2 separate regions of the Homo sapiens genome follow, and region 1 is linked to region 2. The links are contacts of gene promoters, found by promoter capture Hi-C in blood cells and fetal thymus (Javierre and others, 2016). All regions are on one chromosome and are shown on one strand. Each heading gives the region's core, a stretch centred on a gene start or on the middle of the fragment in contact. The rest is flanking DNA. Distances are from core to core; before and after follow the strand shown. Region 1 overlaps USP42 (ubiquitin specific peptidase 42). Region 2 holds the start of CYTH3 (cytohesin 3).

Evidence for each region. The method cuts DNA at HindIII sites, captures the fragments that hold promoters and counts their contacts. A CHiCAGO score of 5 or more calls a contact.
Region 1: a fragment that was not itself captured here is called in contact with the fragment with the promoter of CYTH3 in region 2 in 2 of 17 cell types (M0 macrophages and M2 macrophages); the score reaches 6.7 in M0 macrophages.

The regions. Positions count from the first base shown.
Region 1 is chr7:6,139,024-6,142,346 of GRCh38, forward strand. It overlaps USP42 (ubiquitin specific peptidase 42), which reads left to right. Exons shown (of 18, transcript NM_032172.3): 5 at 69-171; 6 at 1,105-1,172; 7 at 1,891-1,961. Among named protein-coding and RNA genes, the nearest start is that of USP42, 36 kb to the left of the region's middle. The HindIII fragment of the contact is 931 bases long and covers 1,176-2,106 here.
Region 2 is chr7:6,271,256-6,274,517 of GRCh38, forward strand. It overlaps CYTH3 (cytohesin 3), which reads right to left and starts at 1,369. Exons shown (of 13, transcript NM_004227.4): 1 at 1,219-1,369. The coding sequence starts at 1,252. RefSeq lists enhancers at 1-706, 707-1,428 and silencers at 747-916, 1,237-1,596. The HindIII fragment of the contact is 13,610 bases long and covers 1-3,262 here.

The sequences.
Region 1 (3,323 bases), core at 391-2,890, 130 kb before region 2:
TTTTGGGGGGTACAACTTAGGCTTATTACGTGTAATGATAAAGCCTTGTCTTTACCGAAATTTTACAGGTATAGCTAGGCACTTCCGTTTTGGAAACCAAGAAGATGCCCATGAATTCCTTCAATACACTGTTGATGCTATGCAGAAAGCATGCTTGAATGGCAGCAATAAGTAAGTACAACAGAGCGCCAGCCATGTCTTCATTGGGGATCTCTGGTTGTAGTTTATTCTTATCAGAATTCATTTTCACCTTTTTTGTTGGAAGCACACAGAACAGTGTTCACTTTACCTTTTGGCTTTGCTCTGCCTCTTCCTTAGGTGATGTGCATTATTTTAAAATGGTTGAAATTTACACGTGTGTCTTACGTAACAGTTTGAGTTGGCTCAATCATAGATGTCAGGAAATAAACATTGGTCTTGCAGCTATTTAATTTCTCATTATCAGCAGACGTCTGCAGATCTCAAACTAGCTGCTTCTCCTTTCTAGTTGTGCCTGACATTTTCTTTTCTCTGCTGCCCTCCAGCCTGTGTTTATTTCCTGAACCCCCACCCCAATCAGTTACTGATTCTTGTAGCTAGTTCCTTAAAATCTAAATGCAGACTCAAGAGGAAGAACGAGGGGACAGATAATGCATCCCAAGCCGCTTGGTGCTGTCTGAGACACCTGGTAGATCTCCCTCTGCATTCTCCCTGCCCTGGCACCGCCCTGTCTAGGACTTCATTGTCCGGGTGATGACATACTTGGGTCGGAGGAAGACTCTCTGCCTTTTCCGCCTCCGCTCCCTTTCCTCCCACACAGGCCGCAGTGCCCGGAGGCTGCCATCTTCCTGCTTCAGGACCAGACTCCTGCCTTGCTTCCCGAGTCCCTTCCTGACAGACACAGCTCCCACAGCTCTGCGTCTCCTCCCGCCACTCCCAGACCTCCCTGTGTTCTGGCCAGGAAGGGATGCTCTTGGGCTGCCACACGTGCCATCCTTTTATTTTCCATGGCTGTCCTGTTTGAATTCTTGATCTTTTGTGAGCTCCCATGTGTTTGAAATCTGGTCACAGCATCTGGAGTTTTTGCAAAGCTCTTCTCTCATGTCACTGTTCAACGTTTTTCAGATTAGACAGACACACCCAGGCCACCACTCTTGTTTGTCAGATATTTGGAGGATACCTAAGATCTAGAGGTAAGCTTTTGCTTATAAGTTGATAAAATGATACACACATGTGGTTAAAAAATGGTAATAGTAGGACAGGGTTAGTCCTACTAGGAAGGAAGGAAAAGTGCTTCTCTCCAGCCCAGATTCTCATTCCTTTTACCCAGAGGCAGCCTCGGTGCCAGGTTGTAGTAAATCCTCCTGGTAGTTTCCTGTGCATGAATAAACTGGGAGCATACTGTGTGCACTGCTTCCATTTGTCTCTTCGTATTAGCAGTCTTTTACATTTCAGCACACAGGCCTAACAGCCTTCGACAGTTGGAGTAGTGTTCCATTTATTTTAGTCCCCTATCGATGGGATTTAGGTTGTTTGTGTTTTGTTGTTGTTCATGGAGCATCCGTGCACACATGCTTTATGTCTGGGTAAAAATGTATATGTAGGATGAATTCTTAGTATTAGAATTTCTGGATCACAGGGAGTGTGTATTGTAAATTTTAATTCTGTCAGGTTGTCTTCTAAGAGGGTATACCAGTTTTGATTCTAATCAATAGTATATGAGGGGCCAAATTCATTACACTTTTCACCCATATTATGAGTAGTATTAATTTAAAACTTTTTTTGTTCAATTGATAGAAAAATTACAGTTAAAAAATTTTAAATTTCAAAATTGTATTTTGTCATTTCAGTAGTTGATGTTGCTGTAATGATTATACTTTGCTCATCTTTTGCATTTTATTTTTATTTCAGTCAAATGTTTAAATTGCAAGGGCGTTTCAGATACTTTTGATCCATATCTTGATATAACATTGGAGATAAAGGTAAATTTCATAATTATGGGAGTAATTACATTTTTAAAATAAGTCATTTTATGTAACTGTAGTTCATTTATAATTTAGACTACTTGTTAGAGAATATAAATTGAAAAATTCAATATGCTAAGATTTCATTTGGAGGAATTATTCAAGCTTTGTAGTAAGCATCATAAAAAAGCTTTTAAAGTTTTTTTATTACTCTTTGAATTTTCTTTTTCTTTTCTTTTTTTTTTTTTTTTTTTGAGATGGAATTGCACTCTGTCACCCAGGCTGGCATGCAGTGGCGTGATCTCGGCTCACTGCAACCTCCACCTCCCGAGTTCAAGCAATTCTTCTGCCTCAGCCTCCCGAGTAGGTGGGACTATAGGTGCATGTGCCACCATGCCCAGCTAATTTTTGTATTTTTAGTAGAGATGGGGTTTCACCTATCGGCCAGGATGGTCTTGAACTCTTGACCTCGTGATCTGCCCACCTCCCAAAGTGCTGGGATTACAGGCGTGAGCCACCGCGCCCGGCCTGAATTTTCATTTAATATCTTAATAAAACTAGATTTTCTATATTAGCCAAGTACAGTTGGTTATTATTATTTTTTTTTTTTGAGATGGAGTCTTGCTCCATTGCCCAGGCTGGAGTGCAGTGGCGCAATATCAGCTCACTGCATCCTCCACCTCCAGGGTTCAAGCATTTCCCCTGTCTCAGCCTCCCTAGTAGCTGGGACTACAGCGACTGTGCCCAGCCTGCCTCTTGCATTTTCTGAATTCCTAATTTTTTTGTTGTTTTTGAGCTTGCATTTTTCTGATTACAGATGTAATACATGCTTATGATAAAAATGAGTAACGTTGCAGATATATGTAAAATCCTTTCCTTTTGAATGCATTATTTTTAACAGTTTGATATGTACTGCTCCAGAATGTATTGTTCACTTTTTATATAAATGAGATTGTGTCTGATGTCTGTCTGGCCACTCACTGTTCCGTGTAATTCTGTTGAGACCTTTCTGTGTGAGCGTGCTCTCTGGGCAGTGTGTGGTGCAGTGAATGGATAGACTGTAATTCCTGTGCCGAATTCCTTGCTGGTGGATATTTGGTTTGCTTCCAGTTTTATGTATTGCTGCAGTGAGCATCCTCTATATTTTTGTTCACTTTAATTCTGCTCATTTTTAAATGGGAGAGGATATAATTTGGTATGTAGATTTATAAAAGTGAACATCATACTACTAAATGAAAATTTTGTTTCTTTTTTCTTTTTTTTTTTTTGAGACGGAGTCCTGCTCTGTCACCCAGGCTAGAGTGCAGTGGCTCGATCTCGGCTCACTGCAACCTCCACCTCCTGGGTTCAGGCGATTCTTCTGCCTCAACCTCCCAAGTA
Region 2 (3,262 bases), core at 119-2,618:
CTGGCTGCATCGCGTCTTTCAGCAAAAAAACATCTCCCTCTGAGCAGCACTTGAATTCTGGAAGGCACCTTGATGATGAACCACTTCATCCTGAAGCATTCAATACTGCTGATTCTTACAGGCAGCTGCACCGGCAGCCTGTAATTAAGATTTCTCTAAACTGCTCCCTTATTACATGGGGTTCTGATGATTCTGATGATTTCTCTGTCAGCTCAAAGGAGATCTTCAGGAAAAAAAAAAAAAGTCTAGAGAACCTCAACTTCGGCTGTTCCTGTAAAAACACGGGCATTAACCCTTTGCTTTCCAAAGCGAACACCCACTCCATACAGAGGCACGTTCCTCTGTTTTTAAAATCTAATTCCCAGCATGACCCAGCAGTCATTTGTATTCCACTAAATAATTTCCAACAAACACGATTCCTCCAGCAAGAGGAAACCGAACGTCAGACACAGACCACCTGGGCCACGACGCGCATCGACCCGACCCACTCGGGAGCACACCTGGCTCCGGGCACACCTGGCTCTCCGGTCTTGCCTCTGTGCTGGGTGCAGCTCGTGTCTCCCACCCTCGGCTCCACGGAGTTTTTTGCTCAATCTGTCGCGTCTGCCGTTTCCTAAAACGTCTACCCTGAACTGAACTCCAGCTGGCCCCCTCCCCGTTCGAGCAAATCCAGCGACCGTTTCTGACCCAAAGCCAAGCAGACTGTCACGCTTTCCAACCGTTTCCCCTGCCCTCCCGTCCTGTACACTCGAGGAGCCTCCAGTGCAAAACTTTCCCCTCCCGGTTTCCCACCGGCTCAGCCGCTTCCGCCCACCTGAGCTGAAAGGGGGCGTCCGAAACGCCGGGCTCCGGAGGGCATGAACGCCCTTGGCGACAAGATGCGGGGAAGGTCGCCCCGCAAGGTCCCCCGCCCCAGAGGAGCGACACCCAAACCCCGGCCCGAGACTCCGGGGCGACCCCAGCCCGCGGCAGCCCCGGCCTGGTACCCAGACCCTCGCCAGCGCCGAACGGCGACCCCGGCCCGCCCCCTCCCTCGGCCCCCGGAGACCCAGCCTCGGCCCTGGCCCGGCGTGCCTCAGGCCTCCAGCGGACGCCGCTGCCGCTGCCCCCGACCCCGTCTCCTCCGGCGAACCCCGGCCCAGCGCCGCGCCCTCGACCCCCAGCCCCCGGCCCCCGACCCCAGGCCGCCGGCGAGCCCACCACACCTCCGACACTCACCGCCACCACCCTCGCCGCCGCCGTCTTCATCCATCTTGAGGCCACTCCCGCAGCCGGCGAGCCGGGGGCCGGCAGCAGAGGGGCCGCGGGCTGGGGACGCCGCCGGAGGGAGCGCGCAGGCGACCGGGCGGCTCCTCAGCGCGCGGCCCGGGTCGCGGCCGGGCCTCCTCCCGCCGGGCGGGGCCTCGCTGGTCGGCGTGCCGTCACGTGACCCATGCCCCGCCTCTGCCCGCGGTGGGCGGGGCGTGAGGCCGCGCAGCCCCGCCCTCGGGAACCGGCCGGGCCGGCGGCGTCTGCGCTGGGGAAGGCTGTAGACCTGGCCCCTGAAGTGCAGGCCGATCCGGTGTGCGTGGAGCGAAGCCTCCTCGCCCTCAGCATTCCAGTAGCCTGCGGACGGGCGTGGGGCCCCGGACACTGGAACGCCACACTCTGCAAAACCCAGTGGCCAGGGGTGCAACTTGCACGTGCACTCGGGGTAAAAGATCAAGAAACGAATGCATTCAGAAGTCAGGCCTGGCCAGGCTCGGTGGCTCACACCTGTATTCCAATACTTTGAGAGGCTGAGGTGGGAGGATCGCTGGAGAACAAAAGTTGGAGACCAGCCCCGATAACATAGCGACCCAGGCATGGTGGCATGTGCCTGTAGTTCCAGCTACTGGGGAGGCTGAGGTGGGAGGTCACGTCACTTGAGCCCAGTAGGTAGAGGCTGCAGTGAGTTATTATTGCACCACTGCACTCCAGTCTGGGTGACAGAGTGAGACCCTGTCTCAAAAAAAAAAAGAACAAGGTCAGGCCTTCTCCTTCCTAAGACATGCATGTCAGAAGAATTCCAGCCTTTCAGCTGTCTTATATTTAATGGAGCCTCTCCTCCTTCCCTCCTGGTGAGTGCATTTTTAAATTAACAAAATGCAGGGCTTGTAAATGAATGTGGTCATGAGGTTGGAACGGAATCCCGATTCAACACACCTGGGGCTCAGCTCTCAAAGGGCATTGTAGGGGTTGGCCAATCTGGCGGCTGATGCCCTTGGAGTTTAGCGCCAGTCTTCCTTGGAGAGCTGCCAGCTGTCCTGGATTTATGATGCAGGAGGAGCTCTGAATTCAGTTTCCCTTGGGCACAGCCAGGGTCCTCAGCACAGGCCTCCTGGGCAGAAGGCCTCCCCTGGCCCCTGCTCCACATCGATGGATCTCCTCTCTCACTCCCCATATCTCTCTTCCAGTAACTCCTGAAGCATTGCTTGTGGCCCCTCCCAAGCCTTTCTGTTGGAACTCAATCGCATTAAAGAAAAGCAAACATTGTAATGGAGGAGATAGCTCATCTCTAATATAATTTTCCAGCAACTGTTTTATATTTACAAGCTGTCCATTGAACCAAAGGATCCTTCCGTTGTCATCTATCAAAGTGGACAATTTCACCTTTTGGTTCAAGGTTGCGGGATGATTTCAAAGTTCAATCTTCTAATAACCTCAAGAATTGAACACCAAGCATTCTCATGCAACCAAACCCACGAGGGACACTTTTTTTTTGAGACAGGGTCTCGCTCTATTGCCCAGTCTGGCATGCAGTGTCTCGAGTGATCCTCACACTTCAGCCTCCCAAATAGCTGGGACCATAGGTACATGCCACCATGCATCGGTTAATTTTTGTATTCTTTTTTAGAGACGAGATCTTGCCATGTTTGCCCATGCTTGTCTCAAACTTCTGGACTCAAGCGATCCTCCCACCTTGACCTCCCGAAGTGCTGGGATTACAGGCATGAGCCACCACACCCAGCCAAGGGACACTGCTGCGTGCAAAGGTGTTTGACAGCTTGAGTGACAAAGAGGCACCAGAAAAGGGGTCTGGGAGTCAGGAGATGTAGGGTTCAACTCCCAACCCCCAGACTCGGCTTCCTGATCTTGTTCCCGTCAGCTTTGTCATCTTGGAGATAAGAGCATCGTTACTGAGAAAAAATGACAGCATTACTTTGAACTTGATAATGAGATATGCAGAGCTTTGAACTCAAAGATACTATCAATTATAAATGCTTTTTCATGTCAATCTTAA